Linked DNA regions of Homo sapiens: all the other regions are linked to region 1. Evidence: promoter capture Hi-C in 16 types of primary human blood cells and fetal thymus (Javierre and others, 2016). All regions are on one chromosome and are shown on one strand. Each heading gives the region's core, a stretch centred on a gene start or on the middle of the fragment in contact. The rest is flanking DNA. Distances are from core to core; before and after follow the strand shown. Region 1 holds the start of GYPC (glycophorin C (Gerbich blood group)). Region 2 overlaps PTPN18 (protein tyrosine phosphatase non-receptor type 18). Region 3 holds the start of IMP4 (IMP U3 small nucleolar ribonucleoprotein 4).

The links. Contacts are between HindIII fragments. The CHiCAGO score rates a contact against its expected background, and 5 or more counts as called.
Region 2: a contact is called between a fragment that was not itself captured here and the fragment with the promoter of GYPC in region 1, in 1 of 17 cell types (non-activated CD4 T cells). The highest score is 6.9, in non-activated CD4 T cells.
Region 3: a contact is called between the fragment with the promoter of IMP4 here and the fragment with the promoter of GYPC in region 1, in 1 of 17 cell types (naive CD8 T cells). The highest score is 6.8, in naive CD8 T cells.

The regions. Positions count from the first base shown.
Region 1 is chr2:126,653,848-126,657,920 of GRCh38, reverse strand. GYPC (glycophorin C (Gerbich blood group)) reads right to left here and starts at 1,763. Exons shown (of 4, transcript NM_002101.5): 1 at 1,609-1,763. The coding sequence starts at 1,657. RefSeq lists enhancers at 64-293, 484-733, 191-1,030, 1,824-2,113 and a silencer at 1,364-1,733. The HindIII fragment of the contact is 9,683 bases long and covers 1-4,073 here.
Region 2 is chr2:130,368,134-130,372,206 of GRCh38, reverse strand. It overlaps PTPN18 (protein tyrosine phosphatase non-receptor type 18), which reads right to left. Exons shown (of 15, transcript NM_014369.4): 6 at 3,006-3,074; 7 at 2,380-2,442; 8 at 2,017-2,159; 9 at 1,584-1,650; 10 at 1,425-1,502; 11 at 1,243-1,332; 12 at 920-1,008. Among named protein-coding and RNA genes, the nearest start is that of PTPN18, 14 kb to the right of the region's middle. RefSeq lists a silencer at 1-23 and an enhancer at 1-377. The HindIII fragment of the contact is 1,512 bases long and covers 1,084-2,595 here.
Region 3 is chr2:130,341,177-130,345,249 of GRCh38, reverse strand. IMP4 (IMP U3 small nucleolar ribonucleoprotein 4) reads right to left here and starts at 2,353. Exons shown (of 9, transcript NM_033416.3): 1 at 2,315-2,353; 2 at 2,056-2,164; 3 at 538-621. The coding sequence starts at 2,317. It overlaps VMA22 (vacuolar ATPase assembly factor VMA22), which reads left to right and starts at 3,086. Exons shown (of 5, transcript NM_032357.4): 1 at 3,086-3,235; 2 at 3,306-3,409; 3 at 3,501-3,583. The coding sequence starts at 3,125. RefSeq lists enhancers at 2,321-2,490, 2,621-3,170. The HindIII fragment of the contact is 8,635 bases long and covers 1-3,420 here.

The sequences.
Region 1 (4,073 bases), core at 514-3,013:
TAGCAGCAAGAAATAGCCGCCCCCCACCCCCCCTGCAGTTCTCGCACAGCAGGGATCCTGCCATAAATCAATCCGAAGTCTAATGTGGAATGGCTTGCAAGCAAGGGCTGCACCGCTGTTTGTCTCCCAAGGCAAGTGTTGAAGGTCTGAAACCTGAGTCCTGGAGAACTGCTTGGGCTGCTGGGCTGGGCTGGGCACGGGGGCGGGGGTCAGGCAAGCCCATCCTCTTCAGACATGAGAATGCCTCTCAGCCTCACCTCCTCAGTGACTGAATTGGAATAATGACAGTGGCTCCTGTCCCTTTAACCCAGGACCTGCCGTATACACACACATAAACATATGCTCAAGTTACGTGCTCCGGGAACCACAGTCTCATGTGCAATTATATAAACATGCCCAGCACGGATCCAGCACTTAGGATGTGTCAGACTCCGTGCCGGGACATTTATACGCACTTCGTGCTGCTGGATGAGTTATCTCCTGTTATTATTCCTACTTTCCTACTTTGCAGATGAGGAAACTGGAGCTAAGAGAGGCTGCCTTGTTTATAGGCAGTGCAGATGATCCCAGTGCAGACTGAGGGGCCTCGCTCCCAAGCACCACTGATGCCTGCGCACTCCCAGGCTGACGCAAGCACAACCACAGGCACATGGAGTGCCGTGTACACACGTAGACCGAAGCAGCACTCCTCCACGCCAAGCTCCAAGCTCAGGCGGGGTGAGGGGTGAGGCCTCACAACCCCCTGGATTTCAAAGACTTATAAAAGAGTTGGTGTCTCCAATACCCATATCATTATCATATCAATAAGGTATCATTGTCACATGATAGGCTCAGGGTATCTCCTCTCTGACAGACTCTAAGAATCAGACCGCGGCAGGGTGGGGGTAAGAGGGATGTACATTACGTTTTTTGGTAAAATCAAATGGTAGTTTTTATTGCAAAAGTCCAACGGCAGAGGAAGAGGGCAGAGAGAGGCCCAGCAATGTTTCCAAGCATCTACAAAGACTTTCATCACAGATGATTTCCTCTCAGCAAGAAAACGTGATGGTTTAAAAGAGAAAACCAGCAGCGAGGAATTACAAATCCCCAAAGGATCCAGGCCGCAGGATTCCCTCGCATCTGTGTGCCTTTGCGGCGCCCAGCGGAGCGAGCAAGTCCCTGGGCAAGGCTGGAGTTGCCTGGAGTTCACCGGAGCCTGGCCGGTCGGACCCTGGCTGGGGAGCAGCACAGAAGCAACTTGTGATGTGAACTCTCACCTAACTGTTCTTTAGGGAGACAATTCTGGCCCCACACATTTCACATGCCCCGCACAAAGAAACAGAAAGCGGGCGACACGCCCTGGGAGGGCGGGCTGGCGGCTTCTCCAGCTCGGAGCGCGTGGAGGCTGCGCGTAGGGGTCCGGGACGCGGGACAGGGACTCCGCGCAGCCCAGGCGCCGGGGAACCGGGGCTGGAGTCGGGGATCTGAGCCCAGCGGACGCCTCCTCCGCCTGGAGGCCCGGCACGGACCGGGACACCAGGGCGTCCGTGGCCGTGGCTCGGCCCCTGGCTGCTGCGGGCCGCGGCCTCCAGTGGGTCCCCAGGACCCTTCCCCACGGCGGGTACTCACCGAGGCTGAGAGGCCACGCCGTGCTGTTGGGGCTTCTCGTCGACCACATTCCTGGGCGTCAGCCCGGGCAGAGACCGCGGGGACTGGCCAGGCCGGGCCAGGCCGGGCCGGGGGAGGGTCGCGCTCCCGGGCTCCTGACCCTCGGCGGCGAGAGGAAGCGGCACCTGGGTCACACTCCTCCCGCGCGGGCCGAGGGGAGGGGCTCTGGCCCGGAGATAGGCAGACTTCATTTATTTTTTTTCTGCAGACTTGGCTGGTGGGGTTTCCACCCCCTTTTTTTTTTTTAAACACACACCCGCCCACTTCTGAACTCTTCTTTGCTCCAACTTTCCTGCGCAAGAACCACGCTTTTCTAACCGTTTCTCTTTCCATCTGCCACTACCGGATACAGAGGTTGTGGTTGAGAATTCCCCCTGGAGTGCAGGGAAAACTCCCCAATGTGACATGATGGCCTGGCCCAGCACTGTCGGGGATGGTGACCAAATAGGGCAGACCTGTGTTGAAATCTTGGCTGGCTGCGCGGCCGCTGGATAGCTGGGCGGCCTCTCTCAGCTGCGGGGCATTTGTCCCTGGAGAGAGTCCCTGTCTTGTTGGCCTTTGGGGGCCCTGTACTCATGGATGGGCTGTTGAGCAAAGATCATTCCAAAACAGGAAGAATTGCTGGACAAGAGTCGTGATTTGTTCCCATTGCTTTTGTCTGAAGCTGCCAGACACAGTGCAGTTTGTGAATTCGCTCTACTTTTGCCATGAAAATCTCCACGTGGATTTCGATACATACCTTTGTTGGTTAAATGCAGTCAAATGGCACCACCTACAAAAAATGTATCATAGCATTATCTGCCCCTTCTGCCCAGAGACAAGGGCAGGGAACTTGAGGCCCTTGTTTTAAATCCCCACCCAGGGGAACACCCTGTGCTTCTCCTGTGTGATGTCTGAACCTTCCTGTGCTGCTTTTCATTGTTTACTTTATAGTTCCCCAAGCACTTTTGTGACGCCCACCTCTCCCCTACCTTCTGCCATTAAGGCCTATCCTGCACAATCCGGAGAGCCAGGCCAGCTGTCTGTACAATGTATGGGCGGTGCCTTTGGGACTGTCATCTGCATTGAATACAATGAGAGGCTGCGCCCTGGAGATTTGCAACACAGAGGCTTTGCTCACCTCTAGCCGGGCTGCACAAACTCCAGGCCTTCTTGACGCAGTGGGAAAGCACTCATGATTCACTTTAGTTAGATCATGAAGAACCCCCGATGCTGATAGATCTTTACTCCAACTGCCATGTGCAGCACAGCCATGTTGAATTGAAATAAACTACTCACAGAATGCCTTTGGCCTGGTGGGGAAGCCCTGAGTCTTGATTTCCTCATCTATAAAATGGAGGCAAGAACACCTGCATTCCGGGGTTTTACAGAGGCAGTGATTGTAGAATCACAGTGGGAACAGAAAAGGCATTTAATAAACAGCAATGAGTAATGATTAATTTATTTTTATTTATTTATTTATTTATTTTTCTGAGACGGAGTTTTTGCTCTTGTTGCCCAGGCTGGAGTCCAACGGCGTGATCTCGGCTCACCACAACCTCCGCCTCCTGGGTTCAAGCAATTCTCCTGCCTCAACCTCTCGAGTAGCTGGGATTACCAGCATGTGCCTCCACGCCTGGCTAATTTTGTATTTTTAGTAGAGACGGGGTTTCTCCATGTTGGTCAGGCTGGTCTCGAACTCCCGACCTCAGGTGATCCACCCACCTTGGCCTTCCAAAGTGCTGGGATTACAGGCGTGAGCCACTGCACCCGTGATTACTTTAACAGTTTAACTTTTTTTTTTGGTAATACATACACATACGTCTACGTGGAACAGTAGTCCCGCTCCTCTGTCCTGAGAGAAAATAACTTTAATTATCTGAAATGCAGCTGGAAAGTTGGAAAGAAGCAGAAAGTTCTGCCAGGTAACAACGGACAAGTCATTAGGTCATTGCAGCACACTTAGAGAAGTCACTTTTACAGACTCATTTAGAACCTACTGGCCTTAGACGTAATCATAAGAGATTTCCTTAATTTCTTAGGGTAAGACAGGTTGAAGGCATCAAAATGTTGCAGAGAATTCCTTACAGAAAATAAGCCAAAAATTAATAAACTAACGAACTAAACAGTGAAAATTGAAAGCCCCACAAACTGCAGAGGTCAGATACAAGAACGAAGTAGCATTTGTTACAGAACTAAAGCAATCTCAGCTCCAGCCATCACTGGAGGATGTGACAGTTCCTTGCGCTATTAAAGACCACAGGGCTTTGGAACTCAATCTGGGTTAGTTACTCTACTGCCTACTAGCTGCGTAACCTTCAGCATTTCACTTTCTTTCTCTGAGCCTCATTTTTCTCAGCCTGGAAATTGGAGCAATCTGCAAAGTTAGGCTGTTGTGAGTAATATATTCGATAATAATTAAAGAGGTAATTACAATGAGAGTACAC
Region 2 (4,073 bases), core at 590-3,089, 3.7 Mb before region 1:
CGGGAGTGGGGAGGCTGCTCAGCGCGCAAACCACGGGCTTCCTTCCCGCCGAGGCGGTGCGCTAGATGGGAGGGAGGGCTCCTTGGGTTGGAGGCCTCGCTTCTGTGTCCCTAGCGCCCTGCAAGTTAGGGGGATGAAGGAGGAACGGGGTCAGCCTGGAGGGTAATTTGGGGCAGAGTGTTGGTTTGAGGGGTGGTCATTTCTGTGTCAACGTCTACTGAACAAAAGAATGCGGAAGTGGCATAGAAGACAGGAAGGGATGGCCGCAAGGACAAGGGCCTTAAGTCTCCGCTGCGAAGGCGGCTCAATCCCATGTCCGCAGCACCCAACGTGCGGCCTGACAAGAAGGCGGCGTCTAGAATTATTTGCTGAATTTTTTTTGTTGTTTTTTTGAGACAGGATCTCGCTCTGTCGCCCAGGCTGGACTGCCGTGGTGCGATCTCGGCTTACTGCAACCTCCACCTCCCGGGCTCAAGCGACTCTCCTGCCTCAGCCTCCGGAGTAGCTGGGATTACAGGCTCTCACCAGCACGCCTGGCTAATTTTTGTATTTTTAGTAGAGACAGGGTTTCACCATGTTAACCAGGCTGGTCTCCAGCTGGGCTCAAGTGATCCGCCCTCCTTGGCCTCCCGAAGTGCTGGGATTACAGGGGTGAGCCACCTGAATTAAGGTTTGATTAGAGGATCCAGGAAAGGCCTAACTCAGAAGGCAGGGCAAGCCTTAGAGGCAGAGGCAAGGGGTAAATGAATCATCTTGGGATAATTGAATCATCTTGGGGTGGGTTCCCAGAGCTCAATTCGAAGAAAGGGCCAGCGAACACTTGGCGAAGTGAACAAGGAACGGACTGGTGTTCCAAGGATGAAGAAGGGGTTAGCCTGAGAAATTGGGCAGGGAAGAATCCGGGGATGGAGCCGGGTACCTGAGGACCCCTCCTGGTGGGCGGGGTATGGCGAGAAGTGCCTGGGGAGTCCGGAGGAAGAGGGCATCGTCGTAGAGTGGGGCACAATTCTGAAGAAAAACAGGAGGGGAGGCTCCTGAGGGAGGAAGCTGGCCAGGCCTCTCAAGGGGCTCTGGGAGAAAGCTTAAGATGGGAGAGCCTGATAAGGATGCCTGGAGGAGGGCACAGGTGGATGTCATAGTCAGTGCCTGCTCCCAGTAGTCCCGGGGGCTGGACCCTGCTCGGGGTCCTGGTCTCTGAGGGTGCTGATGGTGGACAGGAGAGTGGGAAAGGAGCCTCTGTACCTCTTTGATGTTCTGGTAGTGGGGGCTGGCATTCTGGAGTGTGGAGCAGAACATCTGAGCCACCGTGTGGTACAGGAACCTGTACTGCTCCTGTTGGGGTGAGGGACCATCAAGAAGGGAAGGCAGGGGCAAATGACAGCAGTGGGCCACTGTCCCTGAAGATTAGGAGACCCAGGGTTCACCTCTGTCTGCACGGCCGCAGGCCGCTGCTTCCTCATCTTAAGGACCACATCAAAGAGACTGAAGTCAGGTGGGATCATCTGGGGCAGACAGACAAGGCACTTGAGCAGGACACGTGGTCATGGGCAGCACACTGCACACACAGGATGCCTGTATCGTACCTGGGTCAGGAGCAGCTGCCTCACATAATCCACGGTGCACAGGACGCCTGTTCGCCCACAACCCGCACTGACAAGAGAATCAGAGTGTGCCTGGTCAGGTCCTGACCACAACCCCTTTTAGATGGGGCATTTGGGGATGGGGGTGAGGGTCCTGATGGATCCCCTGCAGAGCCTCTTGATTCCCAGAATCTTCAGATTATATCTGAACAAGGAAAACCTTTTTAATCACTTACATTTTGTTGAGCAAGAGCTGTGTGCTTATTCCCCAGCTGAGTCTGTGCTGAACAAGTGCTCACAATTACAGTCCATGGAGGGTGAGCAAGGGTTCTCAAAATAGGCACTCAGACTACAAGACTAGCCCCATGCCCTGTACTCCCCTCCATGCTCTGTCCCCTCTGCCTCACCAGACCCTCCTGAAGCCCATTTCCAAAACCTGCAGTGGACACAGAGGGGTTCAGGGCCAGATCCCTGGAGGCGACGGGCTTCCTCCACCATGGCGAGCATGTGGTCAGGACTGCTGGGGACCCCACGGTCTGGCCAGGACATATACTGTAGCTGGTACACAGAACGGGACTCCTGAAACACAGAAAAAGATGAGCAAAAGACTTAGGAAAAAAAAGAAAAAAGCATTAATTGGCCATCTACTATACACCAGGCCCACTTCTAGGCATCTTCCATTTATGTCTACCAGACAATAACTGAGGAAGTGGGTACTAGTATGATGCCCATTTTTACAGGAGAGGAAACCTCTCCCCTTTCAGGAGCCCCTTTACCTCCTCCTCCCCTGTCACAGTACCTTCTGGAATGTGACCTTGAGGGTCCTGAGCATGATGTCCTCATTCAGCCACTTCTCCTTTATCTGAGTAAGGGGGGTGGGGCAAGTAAGAAGAGGGAGGAGAACAAAGATCATAGGTACCAGAAGACATTTATAGAAAGCAAAGCATTCCTGATTAAAAAATCAAATACAGAAAACATTTTAAAAATTCATATAGCCCAAACTTTCCCCAAAGCTTTCATTAAGGAAACATTTGACACAGGAGCAAAAGAGGAACTATTATAAAAACACAAGCCCTTTTGCAATGAAAAGAGATGTCTTTTGTTCTAAAATGAAACTTTTATTGCATTTATTAAGTACTAACTGTATGTATGACTTGAGAGAGTTCCCCAAGCTCTTTTGAAATGGTAAGAGAAGTAAGAATTTCAACAACCTAACCAGGCACATTTACATGACAGAGATTAACTGATTGTAGCCAAAATAAAAATGCAAAGGCTATCCCTATAGTAAGTTCTAACTATTTGCAGGCTAACACCAGAGGGTTTCCTGCAGTATGAGTGGACTGTGGGTTAAATCATTCAACCTTTTAGGCCCAACCCAAAGCCTTTCCACCCTGGGAATCTTCCTTGAAAACTCCCACAGCTCACCAGAGTGATGCAGAAAAGCCCAGTCTGCAGTGGCTCCTGCTCCTGGGCCCAGTACCGCTCACACCTTTTCTGCAAAAGGTAAGGGAGAAAAGGCAGGGAGTGAGAAGAGGGAGTCAGCTTCAGAGCTAGCTCAATCATGCCACAAGACACCCCAGGTGCTCGTGGTGGAAGCACAGGCAGCTATACTTATAACCTATAACAGACGCCAGCCAACAGAGCCATCAGATTAAACACATGCAGACTCAATGGAGGTGCGCTGCTGACCATGCAGGGGAAATACAGTCCAGGATACCCTCCCACTGTAAGCAACTAGAAACTGGACAAAATACATGAGCCACTATTTTCAGACACTGGTTGGCAGGTGTTGCAGTACTGTGGTCACTGAACAGACCACTCCGGCTTATTGCATGGAAGTGTCACCAGGCTGTAAGACATGAGTCTAATGATCCCACTGAGTTGAGCCAGAGACCATGGCTCAAGGAGGCAAAAGCAGCTAGAATTTGCAGGGCAGAGTCCTGGAAGGAACAGAGGTATGCAAATAAAAACAAAACAATAACTTGCATAGAAGTCCCCTCCTTGATTCTTTGGTTGAATAATCTGAATATATACAACATGAAACCCCATGAGGCCAGGCAAGAATAACTTACCATGAAAGAATAGTAGGGATCTGTAGGATGAACATTTCCTTGAGCTCATGATGAGAAAGAATTCACATTCCCTCTAGCTAGAGTGTAGAGGCATTATCAACTATAAGGGGCATTTAGTAGGGAACCTAGAATGACCACACATTAGAAGTACGGCTAAATTAATTCTAGAACAAAGGCTACTTGATCAACCATCCAAAAGTTCCTGAAAAGGCAAAACACTCTAAAGAAAACAATCCAACACTTACCTGTGCAAAATTCAAAATATCAAGCATCCAATAAAATTTTGCTGGACATACAAAGAAGCAGGAAAGTGTGACCCATAACCAGGAGAAAAATTAGTCAATAGGAAAGGGCCCAGAAATAACAGTTCAGGAAAGAAGCAAAAATCTTAAAATGGCTATTACAAATACACTCAAAGATG
Region 3 (4,073 bases), core at 1,104-3,603, 3.7 Mb before region 1:
CACCGGGCAAGAGGGCAGCCTCCAACTACTCTGGCTGCTGAGCACAAGCGTGGCTGAGAAACAGAATCTTTTGTTTAATTGTAGTTTGCTTAAGCTATATTAGTCACATGGGGCTAAGCAGCTACTCCATTACACAACGAAATCCACACTCTGCTAAGGCCAACGGTGACAAACTCTTTTCCCTCGTAACAAATATCTATAATGTTTGGGATTCCTTTCTTGTTTCTTGAATAATGCAGTGAATAAACGTATGGGCACCAATAATGTGTGAGGGACACTGTCTTTCCCCAGCAGGCACTCCAGTGGGGGAGGTAATTAACAAGCCAGGTGCAGAGTCAGTGAGGCACTCCCATGTGTGCCATGTAAGTGGGACAGGGCACACTCAGGGAGAGCCCTGCAATGCCATCTGTGCAGTGACAAGGGCATGGGGGACAGTTCCAGGAGCAGTTTCCTCTGATGGGATGGTGCCCGGTGTGTCTGAGGAAGGACTGGAGACCTGCCAGCTCAGTGTTGGGGAGGGCTACCTTGTATAGTTACCTTCACCTCCAGCATCATCAAACTCCAGGGACCCCTGTAAGGCCAGAGCCTCTCGGCGTAACTCAGTGGGAATCAGGCGGTTTTCTGCAGAGGGAAGAGAGAGGGGCTGAGTGAGTCACAAGCATGGAGACCTCAGCTCATCCAATACACCACAGCTTATTAGCCTGCACATGCTTGAAATAAAAATACCTCAGCCCTTTCTGAGCTTGGATAAAGCATGGATAGAGGTGACAAAACTTTCTACAGGCCAACCCCCATAAACAGTGGTTACTAGGACTTCATTTTCTTTAGTCTCATGACTTGAGGACTTTCTAAAATATCTTAATGTACTGTATTGCTTTTATAATCAGGTAGAAATCTAAACATCGATTTTTTTTTTTTTTGAGACGGAGTCTCGCTCTGTCACCCAGGCAGAGCAGTGCAGTGGTGCCATCTCGGCTCACTGCAAGCTCCGCTTCCTGGGTTCACGCCATTCTCCTGCCTCAGGCTGGCGAGTAGCTGGGACTACAGGAGCCCGCCACGGCGCCCGGCTAATTTTTTATATTTTTAGTAGAGACGGGGTTTCACCGTGTTAGCCAGGATGGTCTCGATCTCCTGACCTCGTGATCCACCCGCTTCGGCCTCCCAAAGTGCTGGGATTACAGGCGTGAGCCACAGCGCTCGGCCTTAAAAATTACTTTTGAAAAGAAATATAGACTGTTCTGTACGTATGATGGTGGACCAGAGACCTTTAAGCTCTCAGACAGCAAAACCGTTGGTCACGATGCCCACAGCGCTTCGAAGGCATGGCTTCAGCGGGCCCTGGACCACAGGCTGCCTACCGCAGAGCACAGCGCTCCAGGTGCGCACTCGGGGCCAGCACTGTTCCCCACGGAGCTCAGAGGAACTCCTGCAGGGAGGATGGGCAGCGCAGTCTGCAGCACCAGCGCTATCCAGATAGTCTTTAGAGAGAATTTCTTTTTTTTTTTTTTTTTGAGACGGAGTCTTGCTTTTTTGCCCAGGCTGGAGTGCAGTGGCAGGATCTCGGCTCACTGCAACCTCCGCCTCCCGGGTTCAAGCGATTCTCCTGCCTCAGCCTCCTGAGTAGCTGGGATTACAGGCGCGTGCCACCACGGCCGGCTAATTTTTGTATGTTTAGTAGAGACGAGATTTCACCATGTTGGTCAGGCTCGAACTCCTGACCTCATGATCCGCCCGCCTCGGCCTCCCAAAGTGCTGGGATTACAGCAGTGAGCCACCGCTCTAAAGAGAATTTCTACAGGACAAGATAAAGTCTTTAAAACTTGGGACGAACTTGACACACTGCACACAGCGGGCAAGCTGCAAAACCCGGGTACTGCAACGTCAGTGACAAGTAATTAATACCATCACACGGAAGAAACACTCTCAAAACCAACAGGAGAACCCAATGGGCAAGGAAAACGGCCGGCAAGCATTTGGAAAGACGCTCGGATATTCGAACACAAATGCGTGCCGGGGTGGTTTACCACGCAGACGCCCGCGGGGCCGATGCCTTACCTTCCAGCGCGCGCCGCAGCCGCTCCTTCCTCTCCTGGGCTGAGCGCTGCGCCTCCTCCCGGGCCTTGCGGTACAGGTACTCGCGGCGCAGGCGGGCCTCGCGGCGCAGCTGTGGGAACAGCAGGCCCAGTCACTCACTACTCGCTCCCGAGCCCCGGAACCCCGGAGCCCCGGAGCCGCTGAGCCTCCAAGTCCCCAGAGCCACATCCCCAGCACTTCACGCGCCCCGGACCTCCGAAACAGGAGCTCATTCTCCTACCATCTTGAGTGCCGCTTCCACGTGGGTCCGGGAGAATCTGTGGGCTCCTCCAGCGCGACACAGTCCTCACTTCCGCCCTCAACCAAGATGGTCCCTTAGACGCTTCACTGGTGCCTGCAGCTGTGGGGAATGCCCTATGTTAAGATGGCGAATAGGGCGGGGACATCTCAAGGCGATTGGCCATTCCGGCAGGGCGTTCTCCTTGGGATAACCGATAGACTGGATACAGAATGTCACACGTGACTTAGGACCGCAGCTAATAAATATGTCCGCCCAGGCTTCTCCATCCTCGTCCTCCCCCCACCACCGCCGTGCAGAATGCAGTTTTCAGATGACGAACCGCTAAAACAATCATAATTAGCGGCTGGAAACAGTTCAACTGTAAAAACCGCACACCGACTGAAGGTTGCTTGCCGGCTCCTTTCCAAATTAACTTTAAAACCACTCTTCCCTCAACCAAAATGGTTTCTGTAGAGCTTCGCCTTCTTCCATCGCCACAACAGTGGCGCGACTTCTAAGATTCGGCAGCTTCCGGAAGGACTCAGAACCACCTATAACCCTAGCCGACAGTTCAGCAGGCTGATCCACTTGGGGGCTAATTGGAGAAACCAGTTGATTGGTTGCTTCCGTGCTGCTTCTCTAAGGGCGCTTGCCCTTAAAGAAGCTGACCCAGAGGCCTTGGTGCTGCCGGCGTGGGGATCCCCAGATGGGAACGCCCCTTGATGGAGGATCTCGTGTGCCTATTGGCTGTCCTGCCAAACTGCGGAGGGTGACAAGGAAGAAGGTGGCTCCAGATCTGGAGGTGTGTCCATGGCGGCGCTTGACCTGCGAGCGGAGCTGGATTCGCTGGTCCTGCAGCTGCTTGGGGACCTGGAGGAGCTGGAGGGGAAACGAACGGTGTTGAACGCCCGGGTGGAGGAGGTAGGCGCCTGGGGCGGGCAGGAGGGTACACGGGCGTAAACTGAGTCTCACCGCTTTCCTCTCCCTGCAGGGCTGGCTCTCGCTCGCCAAGGCTCGCTACGCGATGGGCGCCAAGTCGGTAGGGCCCCTGCAGTATGCTTCCCACATGGAGCCCCAGGTCTGCCTCCACGCCAGGTGAGGAAGCTTCCATGCTGGGCTGGGTGGGCGGGCGGGCGCGTTCTAGGCCCGGGCTGCCAAAGCTCCATCCTCCCTTCTCGTCCTTCAGCGAGGCCCAGGAGGGACTCCAGAAGTTCAAGGTGGTGAGAGCTGGTGTCCACGCCCCAGAGGAGGTGGGGCCTCGCGAAGCAGGTGAGCCCCCTCTTCCTTCTGCAGAACCCCTTCCCAGTGTCAAAGACAAAATGCAAATTATGGAGATGATTTAAATTAGGTTTTTGCGATAAGAGAGAGCATCCCAGAGCAGAAGAACAGAATGTTTTTGTAGGGTGGTTTTGCCTTAGACTTTTATAGGAAGTAGAGAAATTGTTGGTGAGTTGCTTTACACTGGGAATAGATTTACAATCACATACATTTCAGTCAGCTGAACAGAAAATATTTATCTGTGTGTCTAGCTAGTTTCAGAGGGACAAACTTCTAATCCCAGTTAATCATCCTGAGACAAAGAATGGGGAGTTGGAACGTCTATGTCTGGTCTGTTGGCATGTTCAGGTACAATGGGTAAGATCAGTGTCACAGGCAAACAGGGTCATCAGTGGGTCTTACAGGAGTCACGGGAAAGAGTGGACAAACAGTCTCATCTGAATCACAAGGGGAAAGGCTGTGTTTTGTGGTAAGCTGTTTC